3 separate regions of the Homo sapiens genome follow, and regions 1 and 2 are each linked to region 3. Evidence: promoter capture Hi-C in 16 types of primary human blood cells and fetal thymus (Javierre and others, 2016). All regions are on one chromosome and are shown on one strand. The core of a region is centred on a gene start or on the middle of the fragment in contact, and the rest is flanking DNA. Distances in the headings are between cores, read along the strand shown.

Region 1 (2,700 bases), core at 162-2,661, 160 kb after region 3:
TAACCTCCTAATATCATCATACTGGCAGTTAGGATTTCAACATATGAATTTTGGGGAGACATAAACATTTAGACCATAGTACCAGGTAGGAAGCTCATCTTTGTTTTTTTTTTGTTTTTGTTTTTTGTTTTGAGATGGAGTCTCACTTTGTCTCCCAGGCTGGAGCACAGTGGCGTGATATTGGCTTACTGCAACCTCCACCTCCCAGGCTCAAGCGATCCTCCCACCTCAGCCTCCCGAGTAGCTGGGACCTATAGGCATGCACCACTCATCTTTGTTATTCTCACTGGGATTTTTAAAGTACCTGGCTTTCTTCTTATCCCAGCTGGGTTTCTTTCTGGATTCTCTAGCTCTGGGCTTGCTCAGTTAGTACAGAAAGAGTTTGTCCCAACACATACCTCAGTGTTTACTGAGAGAAAGTTTAAGTTTTCTGGCCTGGAATCTCCAGGCCTGGTATTTAGGTCTATCTGGGGTCCATTCTTGGACTCTTCCCCTGAATTAAGTCTGATATTCTCTTTGGTAACAGAGCTAGAAAATATGACTTGTTAAGGACACAGGTTTACATGGACTTTTCTAATTTAATGTTATAAGCCTGTTGTCCACTAAGACCTTTGCTGACATTGGCTGTCTTTTTCTGCTTGGGTCTCCTCTTCCTCTCTCACCTACAAAAATTGGTAGTTTAACTCCTGGAAATTCAAAACTTACAGGTGAAAAGTTGTGCTTATCACTTTACAAATGTTCCAGTCCCAATAATATGTTAACAAAAGGCCTTTAGAAATTCCTGACAACCATGGGCCCTGATACTTGTAGACTAACGAGCCAATCGTAATGAGTGAAGATGGTCTTTTGAGGAAGGAATTCCTTGGAATCCCTTTCCTGGGACAGAGGGGTAGCTATCTTGATGGTGGGGGTTCTGTGAAGCTTAGCAAAAAGTCCAAGTAATAGATATGACATTTGTTCTCAGGAAGCTTACTAGTTAGCAGCTGTTTTTCCGGTGGATACCTGATGACTATCTTTGACCCAGAAATGGGGGTGAAGAAACAGAAAAAGAAGTCTTTTCATAAAGAATGAATCCAAATTTGACACCAAATCCTGGAGTGGCATATCCACATTGAACAACTTGATGACAAAGTGGTTTTGAAACAGCTGGCCCTAGATGTGGAGAGGACCGAGGACCCTGTTATCTAAACTGGTTACTCCGTGAGGCTCAGCTCATTCAGTCCTGCTTTAGTAGTGTCCTGTTCTTAGTGCTGTACTAATGCTGATTTATAGAACACGAATTCCACAAATAGATTATTCCCCATGTTCCTGCTGTGTGCCAGACACTTGTTAGACATTGGCTATAAAAAACAGAATAGGATGTGGCTTCTGTTCTGTAGGAATTTAGTGTTGCACAGACAGATAAACAGAAAATATTATTAATATGTGATAAGTAAAATAGTAGAAGTATGTATGCATAAGGGCTAATGGATCCACAGAGAAGGGAGTAGTTATTCATGTCTAGAATGAGGGTGGATATTTATTAAGTGGGCTTCCTGAAGGAAGTGGCAGTTGGGATGAATGTTAAAGGGTAAGTGCTTGGTGAAGAAGGGGAAGGTGAGAAAAGCAAGAGGAACTTTGTGACAAAGGCATACAGCAGCCATGTTCAATCTTTTTTTTGGCTTACCTGGGCCACATCGGAAGAAGAATTGTCTTGGTCCACACATAAAGTACACTAATGATAGCTGACGAGCTTAAAAAAAATTGCAGAAACATCTCATAATGTTTTAAGAAAGTTTACGAATTTGTGTTGGGCCATATTCAAAGCTGTCCTGAGCTGCATGCAGCCCATGAGCCACAGGTTGGACAAGCTTGTCATAGAGGTTAGAAGTAGTTGGGAGAAGGTGGTGGTTTTGCCAGAGTATAAAATGTGAAGCAGGAGATAAGAGTAGAAAAGTAGACATGGGGTCAGAGGAAGGGAATTTTTGTTTTCCCTCTGTATAAGTTTAGGCTTTTGGGTAACCACTGAAAAGTGAGGAGTCCAGCTGTAGGCCAAAATCCTTATGTGATCTTTCAGGCCTGATCATATGCAATATTCCAAGGCTATGCCTGACAAACCTCACAGGGGGAAGCTGCCCTCACCATACCACACTTGGCACATAAGCAGTACATTGCAGTTTTCTAGAGAAAATTGAGGTCAAGGACATAGGCCTATTCCTCTCCTAATCCTTCAGGCCCCTATGCTTATATGTGCATCTGCATTCCTAGCCCCGCTACCTCCATTTTGAGGCCTCCTTACCAGAGCCCTTGGCTAAGGTGCTTTTCTTATCTTTGAGTCAGGGCCTTTCCGCTCTTACCCCACACCCCTTTTGTTCCCTCAAGTCCATGGGTCCATAAAGAAGTGGGGCCTGTTGTTTGGGACTCCTTGGAATGAGATGATACCTTGTGTCTGCACTGTATCCACCTGACCCTTGCCTGTGGTCATTCCAAGGGATGAAAAATTTAACATTGTTGAGCCAGCACCTCTCTTTTTTGCATCTTGTTTGCACTTTCCTAGTAAGTAAATGAAACCTTGATTATTACTTTTGGTTTGGCTTGTTGTTCTGATTGACTACTTTAACACCTGATTGCCCAGCAAAGCGCTGTAGGCAGGCAAGTGATGTGATCAGATTAGTATTTGAGAGATCTTTCTGGTGGATGTGAGATATGTCTATGGGGTTT
Region 2 (2,700 bases), core at 167-2,666, 210 kb after region 3:
ATTCTTAATACCATCGTATATCCAGTCAGTGTTTGAACTTCTGATTGCACCATGCTCTTACATGCCACTGTGCCTTTGCTCATGCCATTCTCTTTGCTCTTTATGCCACCACTGCCTTTCTTCTCTGCCTACCTGAGTTTTATTTTCCTTTTCATGTTCATGTTTTCATGTTCATAAAGAAGCTTTATCCTTTAATCAAGTTATATGCTCCATCTGTCTTACCGTACAATCTCTACAAACTTCCAACAGAATATTTATGAATCCAAATGTATTTTTGAAGGTACATGGATGGTTGGATGGATGGATGGATGGATGAATCTATCAGTCTATTGATTGGTCTATCTAAAGGAAGGGTTTCACATATTCAGAATCCACTCATAACTTGAGGCTTTTTGGATAAAATCCAGACTTCTTGGCTCATGTGACCTCTTATGATCTAGCCACTGCCTAGCCTAGAGTTTTCTCATGCTGTTTATTCTTTCAGCCCCATCTTGTCTTAGTCAAATTTGCCTTCCCTCAGCCTTGTATGTGCTCAACTCTTTTATGTCTCAGAGCTTTCGTATATGTTATTGTCTTTGTCTAAAACATTCTTTTCTTGATTCTCTACCTGGCAGACTTTGGGCTTCCCAATCTAAATAGCCCTGTTATAATCTCTCAGTGTATCCTTTACCTTTCTTCATAAATTGATCATAATTTATAATTATATATTTATTCAGTGATCAGTTTATCTGACTTTTCCATAGATAGAAGTTCCATGTGGTCAGGACTATGTCTGTTTTGTTTACCAGTTTTCCTAGTGCCTGTCATAATGCTTGGCATATAGTAGAGGCAAAATAAACAAAATGGCACTATTAATATTCTTTGTAGAACAAATTTTAATTTTGAAATTGACTAAAACTTCCCAACTTCTAGGTCAGGAAGCATCTCAGAGTCAGTTAAGCAACTGCAAAGTTTTCTAAATATCATGCATCCTAACTATTAAGATAGGATGAATTCAAAAGTTTGTATAAAGTACTGAATTATTATATGCTTCCTATGAGAAGAGCTTAAATAGTTTTCATTATACATCAATATTTAAATTAATTTCTTTTCCAACATTTTAGATGTTCAGGATGATGAAGTGGCAGAAACTGTTTTCAGAGATAGGAAGAGAAAATTACCTTTGGAACTTACAGTGGAACTAACAGAAGAAACATTTAATGCAACAGTGATGGCTTCTGACAGCATAGTACTCTTCTATGCTGGTTGTGAGTATGAGCCTTTAGAGGACTGTTACATATTAGGACATTTAAAAACCCAGATTTAATTTTTGGCATTCCATGTATTGCATGTTGTAAAATGAAATTGCTTTCGTATGTCTCAAGTAGACTGTGTGCATTGAAGCATTTACTTCTGATTCTGGGATTGTGCAATTGATTTATATCTGATTTACAAATTAAAGGTGAATGATTAAACTAGATGTTCATTAATTTTGAAAAATTGTGACTCACGCTAATGATTTTTAACATATTAACAGTTATTATAGATTTATAGTAAGTATATTGCTTTTATCTTCAAATCATAGCCATTTAGCTATATTCCTTGCAGTACAAGTGCGGAAAATCAGTTGCATTTGAAACTCTCTTAAGTGGTTGGACTATGTTGAGAAATGTATAGTAGAATATTTCTGATTAACAATAATTTTGGGAAACCTCATAAATCTGTATATTTGTTACATATCAGTGTGGATGCTTTGTAGATATACATGTAATATCTGTTGAATTTTTAATTTTCATATAGGGCAAGCAGTATCCATGGCATTTTTGCAATCCTATATTGATGTGGCAGTTAAACTGAAAGGTAGTGTACTGTGCTATGCATGCTTATTATTCTGATTCTAAGCTGTAGCTATTTGTAAAACTATGTCATGCAAAAAATATAGAAAACCACATAAAATTTCAGTTACTATGTTTGTGTCTCCAGGGTTAAGTTAATGAACCAGGAGTTTCAAGAGTGCTTAGGAGCATTCACTTTGATTTGTCTTCATAGAACTGTCTTTAGTAGAAAGTAGAAAGCCTATGTATTTAGTACTTGTGGCTACACAGTTAATACAACAACCTTTTTGGTTTAAGTCAGTCATTCAGCAAGCATTTATGAGTGCCTACTCTGTGCCAGTTACTCCAGTTAAATACTGGAAATAAAAATTTGGCAGATTCAAGACCCAGTCTCATGGTCTAATGAGAGATCAAAAATCCCCGTGTCCTTGAAACTATATAGTTTACTCCTCATGGATGGAATGCTTTTTAATATCCAGGATCTTTTTATGTTAACCATCCTGTGAAACCTCATTTAATAGTGGGCAAATAAAGATCCAAGGAATGGACTTTAACTGAAAATATCTGTGCTACCATCTCAGCAAAGACATAGGGGAAAATGAGGGAGGCCTGTTAGTAAGAGAGGTAATAATGGATTAGGTGTGCTTGATGTAAGTTCCTTATGGTTAGGTAGTGTGCCTTATATCAGCTTACTGGGCTTGGCATATTGCCTTACATTGCAGAATATCTGGTTTTCAATAATTGTTGGATAAATGAATAATAGAGTTTCATAAATTTTGTTTCATTTAGTGGAAACTATGTACTGATGTACAACTTATTTATACATTGAAGCTTTTGAAAACTCAAGAAATTGATTCTAGACACTCAACCCTAAGTGTACCATTCC
Region 3 (2,700 bases), core at 196-2,695:
AGATGGGTGGGTCACCTGAGCTCAGAGCTAGAGACCAGCCTGGCCAACATGGCAAAACCCCTTCTCTACTGAAAATACAAAAATTAGCCGAGTGTGTGGTGGCTTACGCCTGTAATCCCAGCTACTGGGGAAGCTCAGGCAGGAGAATCTCTTGAACCTGGGAGGCAGAGATTGCAGTAAGCCAAGATGACGCCACTGCACTCCAGCCTGGGCGACAGAGCGAGACTCCGCCTCGAAAAAAAAAAAAAAAGTAATCCCAGCACTTTGGGAGGCTGAGGCGGGAGAATCGCTCTTGAGGAGTTTGAGACCAGCCTGGGCAACATGGTGAAACCTCGTTTCTACTAAAAATAAAATTAGCCAGGCGTGGTGGCGCACGCCTGTAGTTCATGCTACTCAGGAGGCTTAGGTGGGAGGATCGCTTGAGCCCAGGAGTTCGAGGTTGCAGTGAGCTGCGATCGCATCATTGCAGGCCAGCCTGGGTGACCCAGGGAGACCCTGTCTGGAAAAAAAAAAAGCGGATAGACTAGTCCCAACTCTGAATGTTAAAAGACCAGGACTGGGTATCAGAGGACCTCCAATCCTTGCTCACCTTACCTCACTTCTCTAGGCCTGTTTCTTCCTATGATATGAGCGGGTGGCTTCCACCCTCGCTGTCTAATACAGTGGGCACTAGCCAGCCACATTTGACTATGAAATGGGTCTAGTTCGCATCGAATACACACTGGATTTCAAAGACAAAAAAAGTCAAATATCTTATGAATAAATTTAATGTTGGTTATATTTTGAAATAATATTTTGCACATTCGGGGTTAAATAAAAATATTTTAAAAATAAAATGTACCTGTTATTTTTACTCTTTTGCTGTGGCTACTAAAAATATAAATGACATATGCTGCCCTGGTCTAGATGCTCTCTAATATCCCTTTCAGCTTTAAGACTCCGCCGGGAACACGGTGGACACGTAATTCGTACGATTTGATTGTCTCGCATTGAGATACGGAAGGATTGGCCGGGAGTGAGCGGGCTGGGGCTGGGCGGGGCGGCGCGGGGCGGGCACCCCCCGCCCCCCAACCCCGCAGGAAAACACAGGCCCCTCCGGCTTTCGCTCTCGCTCTGGGAACTGGAAGGACCCCCGACTCCCGCGCAGGGTCTGGGGTTGTGCGCGTCGGGTTGCGTCTCCAGGCCGGGGGCGTCAGGGAGCCGGGGGCGGGGACGGGCGCGGGCGCAGCGGACCGGGCGGGGCCGAGCCGGGAAGCTGGTCGGTGCGTCAGCCTCACGCGGCGGGAAGGAACCGGTCCGAGGCCCCGGGCTGCCGGCGCGGGCGCCGCGGCACGTCCACAGGCTGGGTCGCGAGGTGGCGATCGCTGAGAGGCAGGAGGGCCGAGGCGGGCCTGGGAGGCGGCCCGGAGGTGGGGCGCCGCTGGGGCCGGCCCGCACGGGCTTCATCTGAGGGCGCACGGCCCGCGACCGAGCGTGCGGACTGGCCTCCCAAGCGTGGGGCGACAAGCTGCCGGAGCTGCAATGGGCCGCGGCTGGGGATTCTTGTTTGGCCTCCTGGGCGCCGTGTGGCTGCTCAGCTCGGGCCACGGAGAGGAGCAGCCCCCGGAGACAGCGGCACAGAGGTGCTTCTGCCAGGTGAGCGATGTGCGCGTTGGTGCTGAGGGTCCCGGCGCCCTCCGCGGCGTGCACTGTCCCGCACGCCCTGGCGGGTGAGCGGCTGGGGGTGCGTCCTTGCATCTCTTCCCACCGGGAATGAGACTCCGGTGCTGCTGCCCGGTGGCCGGGACTGAGTCTGGCTTGGCGTGGACCGGGCCTCCACGGCAGCCTGGACGTCGCCGCGCCCTCCGGTGCCTCGGACCAGGAGAGGGGTTGGGTGCACGCGGTTGAGTGGGTTTATGCATCTTTGTTGGTCTTATCTGCCCGGGGAGAGTGTGCACAGTGTATAATGCCCTGCCAGTATTTGCTATTTTCACAGAACCTGGATCTTTCTCACTTCTCTCTTGACCAGGAACTTGTGTACCCAGTACCTGTGCTGCGTGCATTTCGCCAGCCTTTCTGGCTAAGACGTTTGTGGGCTGATCTCAGATTTCGATGTTAGGCGGAAGAATGGCTGCTTGCGGTTTTTCTGTGTGTAAGCCCAACTACCTGATGTCTTTGGGACTGCAGTTGCCCTCTGGTTTCTGGTCCTGTGTGCTCTTTTTCTCGAATGTAATGAGATTCTCTTATCGTGACACCCGTTAAGCTGGTACGAATTGGGAGGAAGGTCCTTATTCTTCAGTGCACAAGTTTAATTACAAGCGGATTATGATCATTTCCTTCTGTAAGAGATGTGGTTTCTTGAGCAAAAAATTGAGAGAAACTTACAGTTTTCCATTATCTTCAGTATCTAGTATTTCAATGTGATTACTCTTGTCAAAGCCACTTTTTGGTTGACTCTGTTGATAAAAATTACGTTTTATACAAAATTAAGGGTTAGGCATCCATGTTATTCCTAAGTGGATTTTGCTATTAATTTATTATCAGAAATACCATTTTATGTGTTTAGGGGCATGATACCATGTCAAAGGAAAGATGCATTTAAATATTATGAAAGGTTTCTCTTTCACTACTTTACATTCTTGGATTTTGTTGTTTTGCTGAGTGATTTGGGAGTTGAGGTGAGTGTTATCTAGGAAACTAAGGGAAGTTGAAAGAAAATTG

Evidence for each region. The method cuts DNA at HindIII sites, captures the fragments that hold promoters and counts their contacts. A CHiCAGO score of 5 or more calls a contact.
Region 1: a contact is called between a fragment that was not itself captured here and the fragment with the promoter of ERO1A in region 3, in 1 of 17 cell types (megakaryocytes). The highest score is 5.2, in megakaryocytes.
Region 2: a fragment that was not itself captured here is called in contact with the fragment with the promoter of ERO1A in region 3 in 1 of 17 cell types (megakaryocytes); the score reaches 5.0 in megakaryocytes.

What each region holds. Positions count from the first base shown.
Region 1 is chr14:52,533,455-52,536,154 of GRCh38, reverse strand. All of the region lies in intron 6 of TXNDC16 (thioredoxin domain containing 16), which reads left to right. Among named protein-coding and RNA genes, the nearest start is that of TXNDC16, 18 kb to the left of the region's middle. The HindIII fragment of the contact is 882 bases long and covers 971-1,852 here.
Region 2 is chr14:52,481,369-52,484,068 of GRCh38, reverse strand. It overlaps TXNDC16 (thioredoxin domain containing 16), which reads left to right. Exons shown (of 21, transcript NM_020784.3): 13 at 1,104-1,247; 14 at 1,780-1,839. Among named protein-coding and RNA genes, the nearest start is that of TXNDC16, 70 kb to the left of the region's middle. The HindIII fragment of the contact is 2,463 bases long and covers 185-2,647 here.
Region 3 is chr14:52,694,303-52,697,002 of GRCh38, reverse strand. ERO1A (endoplasmic reticulum oxidoreductase 1 alpha) reads left to right here and starts at 1,445. Exons shown (of 16, transcript NM_014584.3): 1 at 1,445-1,635. The coding sequence starts at 1,522. RefSeq lists a silencer at 974-1,513 and enhancers at 1,764-1,813, 1,419-1,920. The HindIII fragment of the contact is 13,242 bases long and covers 1-2,700 here.